3 separate regions of the Homo sapiens genome follow, and regions 1 and 2 are each linked to region 3. The links are contacts of gene promoters, found by promoter capture Hi-C in blood cells and fetal thymus (Javierre and others, 2016). All regions are on one chromosome and are shown on one strand. Each heading gives the region's core, a stretch centred on a gene start or on the middle of the fragment in contact. The rest is flanking DNA. Distances are from core to core; before and after follow the strand shown.

Region 1 (3,647 bases), core at 639-3,138, 340 kb before region 3:
TTCATTATTCTCTAAGTACATTTTTTTGTTTTGGTTTGTTTTGAGCAGGAGTCTCGCTCTGTTGCCCAGGCTGGAGTGCAGTGGTGTGATCTTGGCTCACTGCAACCTCCACTTCCCAGGTTCAAGCAATTCTCCTGCCTCAGCCTCTCAAGTAGCTGGAATTACAGGCCCATGCCACCACGCCTGGCTAATTTCTGTATTTTTAGTAGAGATGGGTTTTACCGTGTTAGCCAGGATGGTCTCGATCTCCTGACCTCATGATCTGCCCACATGGGCCTCCCAAAGTGTTAGGATTATAAGCTTGAGCCACCATGCCTGGCCAAGTACATTTTAAAAACATATTCATCAGGATGTAATTTCAATGAAATTAAAAGTAATTTAACTCAGGGGTAACATGAGCTAAAATAAACAATGACAATTGAGCATAATGCAGAATGGGAATGCTAGCAAAAAATAAAGTGTAATCTAACACACTGAAATACATATACAGTTCATACACTCTAACACACTGAAATACATATACAATTCATACACTCTAACACACTGAAATACATATACAATTCATACACTCTAACACGCTGAAATACATATACAATTCATACACTCTAACACGCTGAAATACATATACAATTCATACACTCTAACACGCTGAAATACATATACAATTCATACACTCTAACACGCTGAAATACATATACAATTCATACACTCTAACACACTGAAATACATATACAATTCGAAATTTTGTAAGATGTGAGGCTGCATTTTCTTTTACATGGTTTCAACTACACAATTTCATTATTGTATGAATGTGATGTACATGTACATAATCATAATATTATGAATACTATTATTGCTTTCTTTTTTGAAAATCAAAGTACCGACAAACCACAAATAATTCAATGCTATTTAATGAAATAGAATGTATATTCTATAAACCTTGTAAATGTAAAATACAATATTTATAGTAATAGGAAGGGGGAAGAGAGATGAAAGAAATAAAGTCCTTATTCCATTCTCTTTTATAGCACAAAATTAGTAGGTATTTTCAAAGCTTGATAAATCAAGAAATAAATATTAAATTTAGAATTTAATGCTAGAAGTGTCAATCTCTGAAAATAATAGTAATATATCCAACAATATTGGGATTAGAAGTTAGAAGGGAGAAAATGGGAAGGTGGGTAGTAACATATGAATGTTTTCTAAAGCAGGGAGATTGTAAAGCTTGTCTAGAAAACAATAATCAGGAATGAAGATATATATATACATCTTATATATATATATAATATAATCTTAAAATGTTAAACATTTCTTAATCTTAAATGTTAAACATAATCTTAAAATGTTAAACAAAGAAAAACTAAATACAGACATATTTTCGGTATTTTGTTATCTAATGAATGGGGTTAAAGGAAAGACTTTAGTAAAATTTTATTTCCCTTTCAATGGTTAGTATTTTTAATATGTGAAAACATTAATTGTATACCTGTTAAATAAAAATAAAATACCACATATATTATCCCAACATAAAGTAGTCCTCGGGAATTATATGCAATTTGCAGATTCTGTCAGGTTTCTCAGGAAGACGTGCTCAATTTGTAAATTTATGTGACCAGGGAATATTTATTAATAATGCCTATTTTTAACCATAAGACACTGTGTAACTATAAGTGCTATATGGTTAAATGGTACTTATGGAAATTGTCTATTATTCTAAACTATCCATTTTTTAAGTATGCAGTGAAGAGAAACTCTTAGCTTGGTGCTTTAAAAGGTGAAACAGAACTTGAAAAAAAGTGAGGCAAACCACTGTGACATTAAAGCAGAGTGTGAAAAACAGCAGAAAACTAGTGTCCAAAGGGGAGGAATTTGAAAATCAGTGAAACTTGGAGTTTTGAGAAGTGCGGAAAAGACTTAGTGAAGCCCTGGAAGGGATACTGGAAGTGCTTTGCCTAAATATCACTGGTTGCTATAAATCTCAGTCTCAGGAACCAAGATCAGCTTTCTTTTCTAGGCTAATATTAAAAACTTGTTTATAAAAAATACATACATACATATATGTCAAAAGATTGTAATATTCACATTTCTGACAATATACACAGCAAACATGTTATGATTATATCTTTCTGTGGTTTCTGTTTTTATCTTTGGCAAAAGATATACACTTCTGAAATTAAATATTTCAGATGTAAAGCTGTTGAAACTTTAAATTATTCGAAGCCTTGTGAGAAATGTGGCTATGTGGCCTGAGTCAGGTGGCATGCAGCTGCAACTTCTGCCTTTTGTTGCTGCAAATAATTAGGAAGACCAAATGGTACCAGAGATGATACCCCTTCTGATCACTACTGTCCTCACAGAGTAATACAGTTATCTTTCTTGGAATGTAGCAACGTGTAACCAATAGAATTCCTGTAACATGCACTGGTCTTGTGTGGGAAATGTTGTAATCCTGCTAAAATTTATCTGTCTCTGCCTATATAAGTGAAACCTTAACTTCTTTATTTTGGAACACTGACCCAATTTGAGGTTGGTGCTTCACAGGTGATCACCCTCAAGCTTTGCCCTTCAATAAACTCTAAACTTAATCATATTTTCTGAATCTTATTATTTAAGGTTAACATACTTATTTTTTGTTTTCATTTTTACCTTCACAGATATTTATGGTTTTATAGCTGGTCCTTTTTGGGTTGCCAATTTATTTTCTTACTGCATTTCATTAGGCTGGATTACTAAGGTTTGTTTTAAGGCTTTCTATAGGAATAAGTTTTTAAATTCCTTGTGAGTAGCTAAAAAGAAAGCTTTTATTAAAGTGTAACATTTTCAAATATATCCACGAATCAACCTTATTAGTCATTGTATTCAGACAATCTACTTCTTATTTTCATGATACATATAATATGCTATGAGTGGATGCTTCCATTGTATTTCCGTCAATTTATCCTTGCAATATCTGAGATATCTGAGTTATTTATTTAAATCAATACATACTGTGATGATGATAGATGGGTCCAAGTTGTATATATTACCTTTATCCTTTATCATTTTACATTATCTATTTTTATTTTGTTTCTTCTTTGGTGTGTTTGGTTTTTTTGTTTGTTTGTTTGTTTTTGAGACAGAGTTTCACTCTTGTTGCTCAGGCTGGAGTGCTGTGGTATAATCTCAGCTCACTGCAACCTCCAGCTCCCAGGTTCAAGTAATTCTCCTGTCTCCGCCTCCTGAGCAGCTGGGATTACAGGTGCAGGCCACCATGCCCAGCAAATTTTTGTATTTTTAGTAGAGAAGGGGGTTTCACCATGTTGACCAGGCTGGTCTCCAACTTCTGACCTCAGGTGATCCACCTGCCTTGGCCTCCCAAAGTGCTCGGAATTATAGGTATTAGCCACTGCACCTGGCCTCGATTTTTATTTTATTTGATATTTTATGCCCCAAACAAACTTAATTGACTGTTTATCATATACCAACTATCTTGTTTAATATGTCAAGCATTTTTTAAAATTAATTTTTAAAAATTAAAATTATTCTTTTAATCTTGAAATTTCTAAGATATATTTATTCAATATATGGGGTTAGTTTAAAATTTTCATCTATTAGAATTTTGTTATTTTAATGAGTACAAATTTTCCATTTATATTAATATAATATTT
Region 2 (3,303 bases), core at 488-2,987, 360 kb before region 3:
TTTCAAGAAATCACAGATTGGAGTAAAGATATCAGCAAATAGTAAAACTATACTAACAACTTTCTTTCTTTCTTTCTTTCTTTTTTTTTTTTTTTTTTTTTTTTTTTTTATGAGATGGAGTTTCACTCATCGCCCAGGCTGGAGTGCAATATCACGGTCTCAGCTCACTGCAACCTCCACCTCCCAGTTTCAATTGCAGCCTCCCGAGTAGCTAGGATTACAGGTGCCCACCACCTGCTCAGCTAATTTTTTGTATTTTTAGTAGAGATGGGGTTTCATCATGTTGGCCAGACTAGTGTCGAACTCCTCAGGTGATCTACCCACCTTGGCCTCCCAAAGTGCTGGCATTACAGGCATGAGTGGCCACATTTGGCCTACTAACAACATTCATTTGGTAAAATTGGTGATGATTAAAAAGAAACAAAATACAATAGTGAGGTTTCTAGGCCACATGATGAGAACTGACCAGGCAAAGGAGCAGGCTCCCTGTAGCAGTAGAAAAGAGATTTGCTTTTGTGGGCAAGCTTAAGGTACCAGAACAGTCATGGCTGCCAAGTGTATGATAAAAGGAAGAGACATAAACAGGTTGGATCTAAGAGACAAAATCAGCACAAAAAAGCCAAAATTTATTTTTAGTTTAATTTTAACACAGCATATTGCATTTGAAGTACCGGGAAAAAGCACATATTCCTATCGGTGTCTAGGGGTGAGGAGGAAATATTTAGGGCATAATAAAAATATGCAGTTCTGATGGTATGTATTGTGATCTGAGAGAAATTCTTAATTAACATCAAAAATTCTTTCAAAAAGTATGCAATAAAGATATCCAACTATGCCATTTTTGTGAATAAGAAAAGTTAAATGTTACGCATAAAAAGTAGGCACAGGTGGAGAATCCAGGCTGCAGTAGTTGCTGTACCACTTTCAATTATGATCATAGATGATGCATTTATCCTTAATGGGCTCTTTTTTCCATGGGTGTGAAAGAAGTACAACTCAGGGCACTTGCCATGCTCCTGTGGGTCATTGAAAACTTAAAATGTATATAAAATTAAGAAAGCAAACTCATTCACTTAGAAGCATGTTTTTAATTGAAAATAAGTATATTCTATGTGACAACCATTATACTTAGGCAACTGGATTTCAAAGATAAATAGGACACCATCCAAATCCTCAAAAGTCCAATAAAGAATAAAGACAAAACAATTATGTACGAGAAAACAAAATGACTTGTTAAAGAAATTTGCCTGTTTACACAATACTTTTTATTACTTTACTCCACTTGATCCTTACACCAATGCTAGGAGCTAGCAATGTAGTAAAAAAATGTATTATTCCTATCTTGTTAAAACAAACGAGAAAACTGAGTCTTAGAGAGTTGTAGTGATTGGACTGTGGTTAGAATTTTGTAGGTGAAGACTCCAGGTTTTCTGACTGTGAATGATTGATTTTTTTTCCACTGAAGTAATAACAGTCTTCCAAAAAAGAAATGGATTTCTCCTCTGTTATTGCAACAGTGAAGATACAAAACAAGACTCCGTGTCTATAGAAAACCAAAACGTCAATCATGTCACTCAGTGATTCAGTAGATTATCTGGAAATGTTGTCCCCATGATGTCATTTATCTACATTGTTCACCTAGTTTACTGTTTTGGCCAGATATTTTAGCATGGCCTCAACACAGACTTAGAGCCTAGCACAGCACACTGGTAAAATATTTTACCCAATGACTCAAAATGTCAATTACACGGTTGGTCCAGATTGCCTTGCTACCACCAACATATTTTTTAAATGAAAACGATCAGAAAAGGCAGAAATAACAGCATATTAATGAAGATCATTAGTAAATGATAAAGATTAGGCTTTGGCCCAATCATATTTTCATCTTAATGATGGCAGAGAAGAGATAAGGTAGTAAGAGGGTGGTAGAGACAACTATGGAATCTACACATCCCCTTCAGTTCCACAACTCACTGCTTACCTTGGAGGAAACCCAGATCTATGACATGCCAGTGACTCCTAGTGATAACATTTTTGTGTTGCAGGAATGCTGCCAAATCTTGTCCTTGGAATTGACAACCTCAGGTAAAGAGATAATAAAACTGCTATTTAGAGTGTCTACTGCATGTTAGGCTGTTTTAACCATTTAAAACATTGCAATATAAGTGTGCATTTTCATATATGGAACCCAGGGCTCAGGGAGGTTACATATTTTATTCATGGTCAAATTTCAATTAACAGTAAAAAACTGTCTTAGATCTGGGCACCTTCTATAATGCTGATCTGCAAAATGCTTCTAAAGGGCTTAATTGAGAATGCTTGTCATGGAAAAGTCACAGGATGAAAGCAGACACTGAAGAGGCAGGAGCTATCTGTAACAGTGAAAAAGAAACAACCTGGCATTATGAAACAGTATGAGTTTGGAATTTAGGATTAGATAGTGATATGTATTGGTATTTATAAACTCAAGTGTTTAAGGGATCATGTAAGCCATATAGTTCAACTGCCCATTTAATACTTGAGTTTCCTCCATAAGGTCCCCACTAAGCTGATCCAGCTAAGTTTCTCTACTTTGAGCTTCCCTATTATTTGACACAATATCCTTTACCTCCTGTGTTACGCCTCACATTCTCTCAATCCTCCTGTACCCTATTCATTGCCCAGCAGGCAGCTGGGTTCAGGAGTAACCTAACCACATTGCTCAGCTGTTCAGTGTATACATTTCTTCTATAGGAGTTCTTGAAGACCACAACCAGAGATCTGAAAGAACACCCTGGCAATCACTCATACACAAATATGGGAGGATGAGGGATTTAATACTTCATGTGGCAACTCTGATCATCGTGGCGTGGGACCTAGAACCATTCCTTGAGCAGAAAATTCTGAATTAAGTTAGACTTGACTGCATCAAAGAATCAAGTAGAATTTTGCCCCTGTTGCCAGAGCAGTGGCAAGCTTGACAATGTACCCTTGTATTTGTTTTCTTTTTTCATTTTCCATTGTTGTCCTTTTTCCACTCCTGTTCCCCTGAGTTTCTTCCTAAAGCGAACTACCTAGACACACCTTCTTTGGCTCTACTTTCTGAGGATTGGTCACTTCGGGCTGCTATAAAGAGAGATCCTTTCCAATCCTGACCTAATATTCAATGTGGCCTCAAGGTTTTTTTTGTCCTCATCTTCTTGTGTTTTATTAATTTCCATACACCTAGCACCTAACACAGACTTCAATCCCATAAAAAGGAATCACAATATCTAATCAATGGGTATATAGATGAATAAACAGTTGAAATAAGTGTGGTCAAGG
Region 3 (3,619 bases), core at 1,061-3,560:
ATTAGAAGGCAGGGGTGAGGGACAAAGGGAGAAGAGAATATTAACAAATTCAAGACTTTCAGACCCCCCTCCTGCTTTAAGCAGAACAGGTGCCACCAAGCTATAGGAAGCTCTTCTCTTCCTGCTACTTTGGAAAAATGATAGGAATAACCAGAGTTAAATAGAAAATCATTTAATCCAACTGGACCATTGAGAACTGAATTCACGTTTTACCCGATCTATAAAAATAATCTTGTTTGAAAGGAAGGGGTCCAGATGATTACAAATGAAATGAGTTTGCTTTCTTAATTTGTTTCCAACATTTTAAGAAATGCTAAGTGTAATGTTGATGGAATGAACTTCCATTCACCCATCCACTTTAAACACACACAGACACACAAACAAAAAACAAAACCTTATACCTTAACTTAGAAGAGGAACACGTTATCTTCTCTGAGACTGTGGCAGGCTTTAGGAACATGTAGAAAGCAATAGATTTTGACACCGTTGATATTCTCATCAGGAAGCCAGCAAAATACATTCGAGAACACATTGTTTCAAAGTAAGGGAACTTCCATGGAAGCCAAGTTAAGTAGCCAGCTGAGTTCTTGGGTGACGGCTAACAAGGCTTGTCTTTGCATCAGATATCATTACCATCACTCATTTATTCATTCTTATTTTTCAAGTATTTATTGAAGTTTTCTATGTATTGTGTCTCAGGCTAAATACTTGGGAAAACTTGATGTGTAGGATTTTATAGGCACTTGGATGAGATGAATGCATTTTAACTTTTCTGAACAATGAATTGAGTAATTGAGAGTTTCACAAAAATCCAAAGTGATAGGTAGACAATATCTTGGATGATAAAGTAATATGAATTAATTCCAACAAATTAGAAAAATCTTTCTTTACCAATAAAGTTAATTAGGTAATCCCTAGAGCGTACACTTTGAGGGTAGAAAAATATTGTTTCCAGAAAACAAACATGGAAGAGTGAGCACCACTGAGAAGCTTTGGTGGAGAGGAAAGTTCTGTTGGTGGGAATAGGCCACAAAGTAAAACCAACATTTAGGTTGCTCTCCAACAAGAAAAAACACCATCAACCAAGACAAATGTATATGAAATTAGTATGAGCCAGTCATATTCTCTTTTTCACTCCCATTAAATCATACATTTACTGTATTAGTTACTAGGGCTGCAAGTAAATGGTTGAAATTACATTGGGATTGTGAACTGAATCCACAGTTTAAGGTACCTGATCAGAGTAAAGTATAGAAAATACATGAACCAGCCTACGTATTTAGAATTAAAAATTAGGTTTATCAAAAGACAAGTTATTCTTTGAATTTGTTGTGAGATTCCACATTTGTGTGTTTGAGAAAGGAAACAGGAAAATTATTTCAGAAAAAAATGATAAAATATTATAAAATCTGTTAATCCTTAATAAATTAAAAATAGTGCCTGTGATCAGAGGAAGATGAAATTTAAATGGTTCTGTAGGAAAACCACAGAGGAATAAAAGATTTGATCTGTAGGTCATCTGAAGGATAATCTTTTTTTAAAGAAAAAGATGCATTATTTTTTCATTGGCAGCAAAAACAATTTAGATATTTGGAGGCAGAGAGATGTCTGGAGAAATATATATTGCCTCTGACCTGCCTCTTGTTCAAATACCTTGCTCTGAAATACTGAGAAAGAACCTACTTTTTGAAATTACCTGTAAGCGACAGGATTATGCCAGATAATATCTAAGATCTCTTCCAGTTTATAATTTCCATTATTTAATGACACTTTTTTGTATAATATTCATGCATCCATTTTTATTGGCTTGTTCATAAATGTTAACTATGCTTTGTTCTTTAGCGCTGAAAGTAAGCACTAATGCTACCCAACAGGAGTGAAATTTTTAGAAGGTGCTCTTATCAAGAATAGTTGGTTAAGAAAAGAAAATCTGGGTTCCCAGACCTGGGCTCAGATCCAACTCTGCAACTTAGTAGAAAGTTTCTTAAGCTTTCTAAACCTCAGCTGTTTCATTTCTAAAAGGGGATTGTTCTAAGAATTAAATATAAACTTCTTACCTCATTTCTTGGTACTCATTTTTTTCTGGTGATCATAGTTTTGGAGTTTCTTATGTCCTTATCACTATTTTTTCTTGATTGCATAGGCCTCACATAATTAAAGCATCCCCATAAAACCCCTCCCAGTGTTGAGAATGTTTTCATGATGTGGCAGTTATCTTGGATATTTTGTTCAGGCATAATTGGAATCCGTTTTCAACACAGCTATACTCTATATGATGAATGCTTCCACATCAATGGTTCTGTGAGGAGAGGCCATCTGTGAACACAGAGTGCAGGTCATTGTTTCTAGAAGGCACTCCTTGCACAGACAGCAGGATTTGACCTTTTATAAGCTTGGATGGGCAGTAGAGACTTTGAAAAAGAGATGTGGGTATTCATAGGTGATTCAGAATTCTATGTGTACACAAGATTCCATGCAGTATTTTATAATCTACTAATGTGACTCAGCTTTGGGTAAGATTGTAGTTCTGGTGGTGATTCACAGAGGTCTCCTAGATTTGTCTAGTAATACTGTAGAGAGTTTAGTCTTAGCATCCTTCCAGGAGCAATTTGGGACTGTTATCTAAGAACTAAGAATGATTTCAAATAAAATTACAGTAAACTTGTGACTTGTTCACTTTGCAGATAAAACCAATGGTTATATCCAGCAGAAGGCCATTTGTATAATAAAAGATTTGCCCAAAGGATCTAGCAAGAGAAGAGAGCTCTAAAATCAATTTTTCTAAAAATCACTGAAAACATTACCTCATTGTTTTGATCTAGCTGTGAAAATAGACTGTTTTTTATGTTTTAAGAAAGGATGAGGAGATATCACTTGTTTCATCATTTATTGATTGGATCCTTAGGCTTAAGCAGGGATCAAACAGTTTGCACTGTTAGCCAAGGCATTTACAGCATTGAGACAGAAGCAGACCTACAAACTTGAATGGGCTTATATATTTTACTGGGTAAATTTACCTAATATATTGAATTGACAGCTAAAATGTAGGTATTCCTGATGAGGTACATCGATAAATGGTAAAGAAGATCTACATGAAAGGAGTGTGATGTTTTTCTGAACTTGTTAGGGAAGCTACCATGTGGCCATTTGTGGAGGAAATCTGTACTTATTTCTGTATTGATTAGGTCATTTGTGCCATTTGTTCTGCTCTGCGGGAATTACTTCACTTGGCTTGCTCTTTCTGCACTCTGAATTACCTTGTTTCTCCAGGCAAAAATTCTTATCTGTATAGAAATCCAAGATTTCTGTAGCCTTGTGAGTATTATTTGCTGAAGGCGCAGGGACAGTGATAAGTGAAAAGTCAGTATTCTTCTACTGATTTTGAGTTTACCTTTGGATTATGTTTGATCAAAAGCTACATGTGGCATTGTGATTTCAAATAAATAATTTGTTTTATTGTCTTGTACTGTAAATGTTACCTGATATTTATAAACTCCCTCCTGTGTGAAAGGGACTTTGTGTGCCTATGTAATGTCCATACCTATCTACTTTTTGGCTGTAGTCATAGCAGTGACATTATCTCTGTTATGATATATTTAGGGATTCTTGTTGAAGGAAG

What was found. Contacts are between HindIII fragments. The CHiCAGO score rates a contact against its expected background, and 5 or more counts as called.
Region 1: a fragment that was not itself captured here is called in contact with the fragment with the promoter of ARPP21-AS1 in region 3 in 1 of 17 cell types (fetal thymus); the score reaches 5.7 in fetal thymus.
Region 2: a contact is called between a fragment that was not itself captured here and the fragment with the promoter of ARPP21-AS1 in region 3, in 1 of 17 cell types (fetal thymus). The highest score is 8.1, in fetal thymus.

Annotation. Positions count from the first base shown.
Region 1 is chr3:35,308,149-35,311,795 of GRCh38, forward strand. All of the region lies in intron 1 of LOC101928135 (a long non-coding RNA gene), which reads right to left. Among named protein-coding and RNA genes, the nearest start is that of ARPP21, 330 kb to the right of the region's middle. The HindIII fragment of the contact is 1,332 bases long and covers 1,223-2,554 here.
Region 2 is chr3:35,290,031-35,293,333 of GRCh38, forward strand. All of the region lies in intron 2 of LOC101928135 (a long non-coding RNA gene), which reads right to left. Among named protein-coding and RNA genes, the nearest start is that of ARPP21, 350 kb to the right of the region's middle. The HindIII fragment of the contact is 2,431 bases long and covers 523-2,953 here.
Region 3 is chr3:35,649,651-35,653,269 of GRCh38, forward strand. ARPP21-AS1 (ARPP21 antisense RNA 1) reads right to left here and starts at 2,311. Exons shown (of 2, transcript NR_046679.1): 1 at 2,058-2,311; 2 at 547-834. The region is part of intron 1 of ARPP21 (cAMP regulated phosphoprotein 21); the gene reads left to right. The HindIII fragment of the contact is 403 bases long and covers 1,988-2,390 here.